Linked DNA regions of Homo sapiens: all the other regions are linked to region 1. Evidence: promoter capture Hi-C in 16 types of primary human blood cells and fetal thymus (Javierre and others, 2016). All regions are on one chromosome and are shown on one strand. Each heading gives the region's core, a stretch centred on a gene start or on the middle of the fragment in contact. The rest is flanking DNA. Distances are from core to core; before and after follow the strand shown. Region 1 holds the start of EOMES (eomesodermin). Region 2 holds the start of NEK10 (NIMA related kinase 10). Region 3 has its middle 45 kb from the start of LINC01967.

Region 1 (3,618 bases), core at 368-2,867:
GTTGTGGGCGAAGAGTTTCCCGTGTGATCGCGTTCGGTTGGGGAAGCAGAGTCCCGACATCTCAGCCGGAAAATGCGCTCCCGGAGCGATTACTGGCGGCGTCTGTAATTGCTTATTAACAGCGAATATTCAGGCTTCTCCTTATCCGCAACGAAACGTGCCCCCCGCTTCCGTAATAATGAAACGATAAAATATGACGGCCCCGCTCTTGAATCTATCTGAGGAAACGCAGCGAAGAAACAAGCAGCTGGAGTTTAATTCAATATCAAACTGATTATTTCACTAATTATTCTACCTTCTGTATTTGCCGCAGAGCAGAGGCGCAGGGAATCCTAACTGTGGGGCTGTTAGGGAAGCTTTGTTTCTTGGTGTCAGGCCTAACTGAAGATGGTGGTGAAGGGACGGAATCCGGGATCAGGAAAACTGAGCAGAAAGGATTTTAAATTGTGGGGAATAAAAGTGACTGTCTCCCCGAAAGCAGTTGTGTTGGCGTGAGTATGAAGTTGGTGTTAGCTCGCTTAGTTTCACTCTTGTCCTGTCCCCAGTACCCTGTCCAAGCTTCTGATTTAGAAGCTGAGAGCTTAGGTCCTCCAGGATGGCAATGTGCTCTGGCCGTCCCCGGAATCCCAAAAGCTTAGCGCGAGTTTCCTCTCTACAAACCTTTCCCACTGGGTAAAAGGATGGGAACAAACAAAAAGTGGTTCTGTGCGTTGAAGGCCAGGGAGTTTGCCTTCGACAAGAGGAAGGTGTGCTTTGAAGTTACAGCTTCCGACGAGGAAAGAGACTTCCTTGGGCCTGTCTCCAACTTGCCCCAGTTTCCCCAGCCTCCGGGACGGGCGCTTCCCTGCAAGCTATCAGCTTGAAGAGTCTTTCTCTCTCTGGCCTCTAAAATCTGCTCCAGCCATCTCATTCCTCCAGCGGAGGGCTGAGATGACTAATGCGCCAAGGGTGGACACCGCTATGGAGACCCCAAACTTTGTCCCCCTAAATTCCGGCGAAATTACAGACACCAGGATTGATTATCACAGCGGGACGCAGTCTCAAAAAAAAAAAAAAAAAAAAAAAAAAAAAAAGGAAAAGAAAGTCACAGGCGACTTGATCCAATTAGTAAATGCCTAATTGAATTAGTGTCACCTCCACCAGCCAATAGGAGGGTCTCCGGGCTGTGAGGCCGGGAAGCCCCTCCCTGGCCGCAAATATATAAAGCAGCTAGTGACAGCCCATAAGTTTCCAAGTGGTCAACTTGACCGATGCTTTGGCAATTGAAAAAGGGCAGAAAGGCGCGGGCTAGTGGGTGGATGGGGACAAAGATCTAAGTCACCTTCTTCCAGCGTGTGAGCCTGGGAGGAGGGTGGGGGTCCTGAGGAGCAAGAGGTACGAGGAAGGAAAAGGAGAGGGCTTCTGGGTTAGTTTCCACCTCCTGCTTTCCAACTCACGGCGCTTTCCTTCCGGAAAGGACGCTGGATTCAGGGCGCGCCAGTACGCGCAGTAGCGGCCCGCGAGTCGGCAGGTGGGTAGCCCCGGCGCGGGAGGAAGGGGAAGTTACCTTCCCCTCGGAAGAGGGCGCTGGCTCCCCCATCCTGCCTTTATAATAAGGCCACCGGAGGAGAGGAAGCAGCCAGCTGCCGTCTGCGCTTTGCAAAGCATGCAGTTAGGGGAGCAGCTCTTGGTGAGCTCAGTGAACCTGCCTGGCGCGCACTTCTACCCGCTGGAGAGTGCGCGAGGCGGCAGCGGCGGGAGCGCTGGCCACCTCCCCAGCGCGGCCCCCTCTCCTCAGAAGTTGGACTTAGACAAAGCGTCCAAGAAGTTTTCCGGCAGTCTCTCCTGCGAGGCGGTGAGCGGGGAGCCCGCAGCCGCCAGCGCAGGGGCCCCCGCGGCCATGCTTAGTGACACCGACGCCGGGGACGCATTTGCCAGCGCTGCGGCAGTGGCCAAGCCGGGGCCCCCGGACGGCCGCAAGGGCTCCCCCTGCGGGGAGGAGGAGCTGCCCTCCGCCGCTGCAGCCGCCGCCGCCGCCGCCGCCGCGGCTGCGGCCACTGCGCGCTACTCCATGGACAGCCTGAGCTCCGAGCGGTACTACCTCCAGTCCCCCGGTCCTCAGGGGTCGGAGCTGGCTGCGCCCTGCTCACTCTTCCCGTACCAGGCGGCGGCTGGGGCGCCCCACGGACCTGTGTACCCGGCTCCTAACGGGGCGCGCTACCCCTACGGCTCCATGCTGCCCCCCGGCGGCTTCCCCGCGGCTGTGTGCCCACCCGGGAGGGCGCAGTTCGGCCCAGGAGCCGGTGCGGGCAGTGGCGCGGGCGGTAGCAGCGGCGGGGGCGGCGGCCCGGGCACCTATCAGTACAGCCAGGGGGCTCCGCTCTACGGGCCGTACCCTGGAGCCGCAGCGGCGGGATCTTGCGGAGGACTGGGGGGCCTGGGGGTTCCAGGTTCTGGCTTCCGTGCCCACGTCTACCTGTGCAACCGGCCTCTGTGGCTCAAATTCCACCGCCACCAAACTGAGATGATCATTACGAAACAGGGCAGGTGAGCGCAGCGTGGAGGGGCCCCTGGGTTCGGGGATAAAGGGTGACGTGTGGTCCTGGGGAAGGTCCGGGATGAGGGAGCTGAACCCAGTTGTTCCGCGCGGTGCTTAGAGTGTTTCACCGCGCGCAATAAATCTCCGTAGACACCGCATCTCCAATGCGGTGTCCCTCTGTGTCAGTGCCCCGGCGGCTCTTGCAGGGTGCCAATGTTACGGCTGTACACCGCTTTTCCCTCCCATCATCCTCACCTGAACAGACCTGGAGGAGGCGGAAATGGAAATTAGGGCATGTCCACAAGCTGGATTCGTTAGATCCTCCTGCTCGGCGGTATGCTTGTGCATGCCTGCATGCCGGCAAGGAGCCACGGATAGGGAAGGCTCAAGAGCTGGCCACCTGAGCGCAGTAGATGGGCTCCCGCAGTTTTAGGCGCCAGGGTCTCCACGGGGCGTCTCCGGGAGGTGGGCATGAAGGCTAGAGCGCCGGCCTCGGAAGCTCGGTCGGAGTAGGTGGTTAGATCTGCCCTGGAGCCAGACCTGGCTCGGGTTCGGTGCGCGAGAAAGTTCTGATATACATCCAACTGCTAACACTGGCTACTTCTGGGGAAAGGGAGGGGTGGGTGCTGAGAGAGGGGCACTCAAAGGGGACTTTTAGCCTAAAGTTTTAATATATATTTTTAACAAGAATAACCTAATATTGTTCTCTGGTACTTTTCAAAATGGTGCATTTAAAAATTAGTAGTTTTTAACATTCTAGGAGAAAAATTTTAAGAGCGTCTGAAAGGGCCGAGAATATGAGCCTTCGGAAGCACGCGCGAATTTGGAATATACCGATGTTGGGGCAAGCTTTTTTTTTTTTTTTTTTTTTTTTTTTTTTTTTTTTTTTTGAAAAGACGGAAAGGTTCCAAGAGTTGCCAACTCAAAAATATTTTACATAGTTTCAGACCACTTGATCTACCAGCATTCTGTTCACTGCAAACTTTTAAATGTGTTCCGACCCTATCCCAGGTGTCTGGGGAACCCGCTGGGGCCTGGGCCTGTTCTAGGACATCCCAATTAAAATCGATTTTTCTGATTCTATTCCCTTGCACAGGCGC
Region 2 (3,618 bases), core at 745-3,244, 350 kb after region 1:
TAGCAAATTACAGGTCTTGGTTTGTTTTTCATTTGGCATGTGTGGAACACTTTCCTTTTGTGTTTTCTGCACTGAAAAACATCTGATAACCTCACCATGAATTTGATAGCCTTTGGAATAAGATGGGGATAGACACTTATGTTTTTGGAAATTTCATTTGAAAATGTAGTTTACATTTATTTTAGGGGAAAATTTTTTTTGTCAATTTATAATTCCTAGCTACAGACCTTTGAGATTCTGCAAGAGGAGAGAGGAAAAGAGTTAGCTCTCTTTGATCTGGCCAATAAAGGCATATCTGATCTCTTGAGTATCACTTCTTTTCATGGTTGACCCATACGTTCCTACCTCTGTGCTTTTAATGAAAACATTTCTGCTGTTTAGAAAACCTTTCTGCTTTTCTTTCAAAGCCCAATTTAAGTTCTGCCTTTACTTCAAATTGTACTCAGCCTTCTGCTTTCAGTCTACAAGATCATTCTCATTCCTCCACTTAGATTGTGTGTGTGTGTGTGTGTGTGTGTGTGTGTGAATAGCCTTTTCTTGTTCTAGACCATTGGGCTAAAGTATTTATAAATTTTGGGAAGTGGTTTTATCTTCTTGTTGAGGTGATCCTGAATATCTACTTACATGCAGATTTGTTACCTTTATGCTGTAGTTAGGACATTATGCTGTTTTACTTTTGAACTGTATAATTTACGTTATGCATTTCATTTAAAAAAAGGCCTTAGAAAAATATGTTTTCATAGTTTTGAGCCTTGCTATATAAGCTATAAGCTTGGTGCAAGATCTCTTGTGGGATTTTATTTTGTGTCATTTTACAGAGGGACCCTTAACATTTGAGATGATAGTGTATGTGTCTTTTAGAGGCAGTGTCATTCTTGCCTCTTAATCGCTGCAGCTTTCAGGGAAGTTCAGGAATATTCTGGGATGGCCAAAACATTAGTTTAAGACTTTAATTTTACTGAGTAGTGGAAAGATGGGAAGCACAATTGGTATTCTGGTGAAGATGAGAAGTTCAGTGCAGTCATGTCTCACTGCTTAATGTTTATTTTTTGAGATAGAGTCTTGCTGTGTCTCTCAGGCTGGAGTGCAGTGGCATGATCTTGGCTCACTGCACCTCTGCTTCCTGGGTTCAAGTAATTCTTGTGCCTCAGCCTCCTGAGTAGTAGGGACTAGCATGTGCCACCATGCCCGGCTGATTTTTCTGTTTTTAGTAGAAACAGGGTTTGGCCATGATGGCCAGGCTGGTCTCGAACTCCTAACCTCAAGTGGTCCTCCTGCCTCGGCCTCCCAAAGTGCTAGGATTACAGGTGTGAGCCACCAAGCCAGGCCGACTGCTTAACATTTAGAATGTATGTACAGAATACTTTTTCTACTCAGCATCGGTCTTCCTGCCCCGTCACCTTGTTTTGTTTTATTGGTAACATTAATCCTGATTGTTTTAGATCTCTGAAGTTTAATTAGTTCTGCTATACTCACCAGAGTTTGGCTTTCATCTCGCCTTTCTGCATTTCCAAAATAGGACCGTCTTCATTTTAAAAAATGCTTTCAATTACCCAAGCTTAAGTATTGTTAATCCAATGGGCCTACTTACTATCCACACCAGAAAAACGTTAGGGTTCACTGTATTCATTTAAAATCCAGTTTGGGAAGATGTAACCACCAGACACACACACGAGCGTTTAGTGATACCAAGATGAGGTTGAACAGGGCCCAGTACTCGAAGAAATCGTCGAAGGAGCATCATCGTGGTTAAGACCAGACTCGAAGTAGGTTTTACCCTGACTCCATCACTAGCTCTGCCATACTGGACTACTTAGGAAACTTCTTGTGCCTCCATTTTATAACTAAGTGAAATAAGGAAAGAATTTGAAATCGTGCCCGGCACAAAATTAAGCACTTAATAGATTGGCATTTTTCATTTATTTAAAGTTACAGAATGTCAGGTATATTTTTAAAGCGTTATCTAATGCAGTTCAGAAATTTTAAAGAAGCTCCAGACTTTCACAAAAGGTGAAGTGACTTGCCCAAAGCCACAAAACGAACTGGCGATAGTTATACTATACAGGTTTCTTGAATCCCAGGTCACTCTTTTTGTGAAAAATACGGTGCTGTGGCACCTTATTCTCATTGCCTGTGGCTTGAGTAACTGAAGACGTTTTCATGCCATATGAAAGGTATTTAGCATGCTGCATTGATTCCTTATCAGATTAAATCTTTGCTTTTAAAGAGAATTGATTTTTAGCCCATAGCAATTCTTGAAAGTAAACACTCCAAGATGAAGCTGCCCTTTCCCATCAAAGGTTAGACACCCTAAATCCAGAAAAATCTTCAACGTGTAGGAGACCTGTTCACAGGTAGCTCTAGGTTCCGGTGAAGTGGCTGCAGCACAGCCTTCAGCATCACTTGCTGCCTCTTCTGCTTGCAAGCTTGGTGGTGGATCTAGCGCGTCTCTGGTTGCTACGGCGATTCCCCGGCAGGCGTCATCCGTCGCTATGGCGTTCTGCACTGCGCAGCATGGCTGCTCCCGATTGGCTGAGGCGCCCCAGGTGGCGGAGGAAGAATTGTCGGCATTGGCCTGGCCAGCGCTGGTTGGTGGCCTGGAGGAGGATTTGATTGGAAAACCAACGGTGCAGCTGGCCGCGGTGTCCCTGAGGTTGAGGGGACCGGGAATAGGCTGGGGGGAGGACGGGACGGGCTGAGACTGGACGGGACCCCCGGTCTGCAGCAGCAGGTGACAGCAGCAGGGACAATGATAAGGAGATTGGCCTGAAGGAGGGACCGTCCCTCCCGCGCGGTGAGTAGGCGGGAGCCGGTGCTCGGCTGTGCCGGCGAGCAGCTTGAGTCAGGGTCTCCGGGGAGACGTCCTCAGGTCCCTGTGGAGCGGCCCCGAAGCCTCGGGAGCCAGCTTCACTAGACAAGAGGCAGAGGTAGAGAATGCGGCTGTGGTGGGTAAGTGAGTCACTGCGTGAGGCAGTCTTTTCAAAGCAGGTGGGTTTGTGTTGGACGGATGGATGGTGGGAAAGCGCCATCAACGATGCTTCTTGGCGCTTCCATTTTGATAACGGAATTATTCTGGTTAAATGGAGCCTGAATGTGTCTCTTCCAATCTGCTCCGACGCCTCTGGAGGTTCATTCTTCATCTCTATGAGCGTCGCTTTTCTGCCTTCTCCTTACAGGATGCTGCTTTGACTTTGCCCCTCTGCTTTTCTGCCCTACTTCGGTGAGCCCTTCCACTTCCTCGCCTCAGGCACCATCTATCTGACGATGATTAGAAAGTCTCCAACTGGAACCTAGCCTGCTCTACTAACTGTCAGACCCCAAAATCCAGCTGCCAAGTTAACGCCACACATGTGCAACCCTGAACGCCATCTTCCCCATGTCTGCTGCTGCTCTTGGATTCCCTATTTTGGGCATCACTATCCATTCAGCTTTCAAAAACTACACTCTAGACGACATCCATGACACTTACTGCTGCTTCCTCTGCATCTCTATCAATTATCAAGACTATCCCTTCTTAATAGGTGTTGAATCAATTCCCACATTACCATCTCTATTTTTACTGTCTCAATTTCCACCATCGGTTGGTTAAATTCAACACCCATCTGGCTTCTCCGATTC
Region 3 (3,618 bases), core at 585-3,084, 260 kb before region 1:
ACATATGAATTTGGGGACAGGAGAGGAAAGGCAAAATTCAGCCTATAGCAGACAGGATCTTTCAGGTGCAACTTCAACCTGGGCATGACACTTCTGGTCCCAAATGATGTATTAGCCGTCTTTTTTCTAGCCTTGGAAAATATTCTGAATTGAAATAAAGTATTGCCTCAAGACAGGCTAGACCTACACATACATGTCTTGGCAAGTCAGCTTTCAGTGGTATAGATGGGTATTTTTTTCTGATTTTATACTTGTGAGTACTTCATTCCAGAGCTTTCAAAGATATCTGCTGAATTTCAAAAGAATCAGCATTGGGCAAAACTAATATGCTGGGGAGAAGATCGTGAAGGTATTATTATGATTATGATTATTAGTATTTAAAATAATGCCTAAGTTCTATTAATGGAATAAATAAGTGTGGTAAACATCTAGCAAGCTGTCAGTAATTTGAGGAGGATAGAATTTATTTGACATTTTCTGTATAAATGGATCCAGGTATTATTTTAACCATTGTCTTGGTGGGTGAAAATTATACAGTCTCAAAGCCAGACCCTAATAAGACTTGGGGAAAAAATATCAACTAGGACTATTTCTATGTGATTCTAGAATATTTTGCTTATAACAGAGAAAGTGGGTAGCTTGGTCTATTTCAAGACTTGGACCTTGCTAGGAGAGAATATCTACTTTTTAAACATGTTATAACCACTGTTATTATGTGGCCTAGGAGAAAGAAATGACTGATACAATACGTATGGCTTTTTCTGACTTTATTTAAATACAATAAATGTTAACTTTTAATATATTTTCTTTGTTCCTACTGCTTTCACTTTTTTCTTTCAATATGCCCTGTTATCAAGGATAAAATGGAGCTGCAAAGATGAAGAGTTAGAATGTGATGGAGAGGTATGGTCCAATGTGTAGGAAGGTAGAATGTCACAACAGCAATGATAAAACTTAGTCTGCATTTTGAATTCATTCATTCATTCATTCATTCATTCTACACTGGACCATGTTGCAACGAAATAAACAAGACAGCCAGAAAGTCCTGGTCTTCCAGGAAGCTGACATTTGTAATCAATGTACTACATAGATGTGGCAGGCAATCACTAAGATAAATGATTTTTCCAAAAGCAAAGTTTGAGCATAGCTTATAAAAACTGAAAATATAAATTAAAACATAACAGAAATTTTAATTTTCTCCTTAGATTTGAAAGCTGGTACTTCTCCAACAAGCTAGAGCTGAGAGTCTCTAACAGGGGAAAATCAAAATATTTATTCCAAGTAGGATTAAGGGAATCTGTATATTGGCTGTGAAATCAAAGAAAAGCTTTTACTTAGTAAGTTTGAAATTACTTGTAATTTTTCCTATGATTAACTATCACAAACACCCAACAAATTCTGCTCAGAGCCCAAGTTATATCTAAAATAGTGTGTGTCCCAGTAGTTATAGACCTGACCTTTTTTCTTAAAAAAAAAAAAAAAAAATGTTCTCTACCCTTGCTCTTTTCTAGGGTTACAATGTTAGTTTAAATCAGATGTTAGTTGTCATGCATTTTGGAGAGCCATCCATTCATTGATGTAATCATCATAAGTGTATCTATCCATCCATTCATCCATCCATCCATCTGTCCATCCATTCATCCATCTATCCATCTGATGCCTTGGCAAGTGTCTGGCCTATTTTAGGCCTTCAGCAAATATTTGTTGAATGAATAAATAAATCACCCAACCTTGACTGTCTACCATGTGCAACTAATAATCCGCAGGTATAGTAGCCCAGTTATACCATTGGCTTATCACATATTCACTTGCTGTTTTCCAGGAGGATTTTGTGTTGATTATTATGATGGTGACAGGGGAAGTGTGAATATAATTTTTGTAACAAATAGCTTTCTGAACACAAAAATTTCCCAATAATATGTAACTTTTAGATATACATAGGATGAATTGTTAAGAAAACTAAGCATCAGATTATCAGGTTAGCAGTTAGAAAACTCTTGCAGGCAGTATAAAGTGTGATATTCCTGTGACTTGGAAACTTAGTGTTTGCCACTTTCTCTGAAGGGAGAATACGGTGAATCAGATTCACTTGAAAAACCCCCAGAAACTTGCTGGAATCTACCTTAATGTCTCCTTAGGGGAATTAAATCCACAAGGCCAATCAGTTCTCAAAGAATTTTTCAGTCTCCCAAGGGAAGTGGAACAACCTTTGGTGGACAGTGTTAGAGGGAAGAATACTGGAGCTGGTGGATATAGGCATATGCTAAAAATGTAGCAGAACAAATTTATGCTTGATTTGTGTGTCTGACCCCTGCCTCTTGGTCATACTGAATAAGCTTAGCAGACACCAGATGTATCATTTCAATTAACATTTTTTGTGTTTTATGGTTTACCAATGATTTTCTTAGTGTTTTCCAAATTGTTCCTCCAAACTACCTTAACAGCAGAATGGGTATACATAATTCCATAGCATCTAAGGAGTGGCCCTGTATATCCTGGAGCAAACCAGAAATTTGCTCTGAAATGTGTGTTTTAGTATGAAATCATGCGTATTCCTTTCTATTTAAATATACCTCTGTGTTTGCTTTAATGTGAACAATGCTTTAAATTAATTATCATGGAGTAAAATATATCCTCAAAACAGTAACTTTCACATACCACCACCCCCCTTTACTCTTCCCTCTGGGCTGTACATTCAATACTTACACTAACCATATGAAATGAATATCACCATTATCCTCTTCTTCGGAAGAGAAATCAAGGATCATAGAGGTCAAAGTTGATAATTACCTAAATGACAGGCATTATCTCAATTAATAGCTTTATACACGTTTAATTCTAACAACCACTCATCACCACCTTTTTATAAAAGAAGAAAGCACAACGTTTGAGAGGTTAAATAACTTGCCTTTGTTCTCAGAGTTATAAGGAGGAATGAGACTGGATTTGAACCCAGTTTGTCTGACTTCAAAGAACCCACTGTTTTCATTATACCCTCGCTTTTTTCAAATGTTCCAAATGAATTTGACATCCTAAGCAATCTGAGTGAAGTAATAAGAGGGGAAAATTTTTTAAGGGAGGGGCCCTGTTATCCACTAATTCTTTTAAGGGTACCAGAAGGGAATTTTTGAAGTTGTGGATTTACCACCTGGAACCTTTGAAAAACATAATAGGAAGTGACCTAGAGATACATGTTCCTTCTCTGTCAACCTGCTGAGGAGATAAAACATAGCTGCTTCCATTAGTCAGTCTGCAAGGGTCAATATGTATTATGTACTTAGCCAGCTATGGTACACATGCAACCACAGTCTTGCTTTCGATGAACTTATAATGTTGTCATACACTTTGGTGAATACCTCTGAATTAGTCTATTCTTGCATTGCTATAAAGAAATATTTGAGACTGGGTAATTTATAAAGAAAAGAGATTTAATTGGCTCATAGTTCTGTAGGCTGTACAGGAAGTATAGTGGCATCTTCTTCAGGGGAGGCCTCAGGAAGCTTACAATCATGCAGAAGGCATAGGGGGACCAGGCAGCTCACATGGCAAAAGCAGGAGCATCAGTGTGAGGAAGGAGGTGCTACACATTTTTAAATGACCAGATGTTACAAGAACTCA

The links. Contacts are between HindIII fragments. The CHiCAGO score rates a contact against its expected background, and 5 or more counts as called.
Region 2: a fragment that was not itself captured here is called in contact with the fragment with the promoter of EOMES in region 1 in 6 of 17 cell types (naive CD8 T cells, total CD8 T cells, non-activated CD4 T cells and 3 more); the score reaches 9.0 in naive CD8 T cells.
Region 3: a contact is called between a fragment that was not itself captured here and the fragment with the promoter of EOMES in region 1, in 6 of 17 cell types (total CD8 T cells, total CD4 T cells, non-activated CD4 T cells and 3 more). The highest score is 10.8, in total CD8 T cells.

Annotation. Positions count from the first base shown.
Region 1 is chr3:27,720,322-27,723,939 of GRCh38, reverse strand. EOMES (eomesodermin) reads left to right here and starts at 1,617. Exons shown (of 6, transcript NM_001278182.2): 1 at 1,617-2,526; 2 at 3,615-3,618. The coding sequence starts at 1,646. RefSeq lists a silencer at 1,982-2,191. The HindIII fragment of the contact is 2,734 bases long and covers 636-3,369 here.
Region 2 is chr3:27,368,401-27,372,018 of GRCh38, reverse strand. NEK10 (NIMA related kinase 10) reads left to right here and starts at 2,636. Exons shown (of 36, transcript NM_001394966.1): 1 at 2,636-2,794. RefSeq lists an enhancer at 2,878-3,378. The HindIII fragment of the contact is 868 bases long and covers 1,561-2,428 here.
Region 3 is chr3:27,982,137-27,985,754 of GRCh38, reverse strand. No RefSeq gene overlaps it. Among named protein-coding and RNA genes, the nearest start is that of LINC01967, 45 kb to the left of the region's middle. The HindIII fragment of the contact is 1,009 bases long and covers 1,330-2,338 here.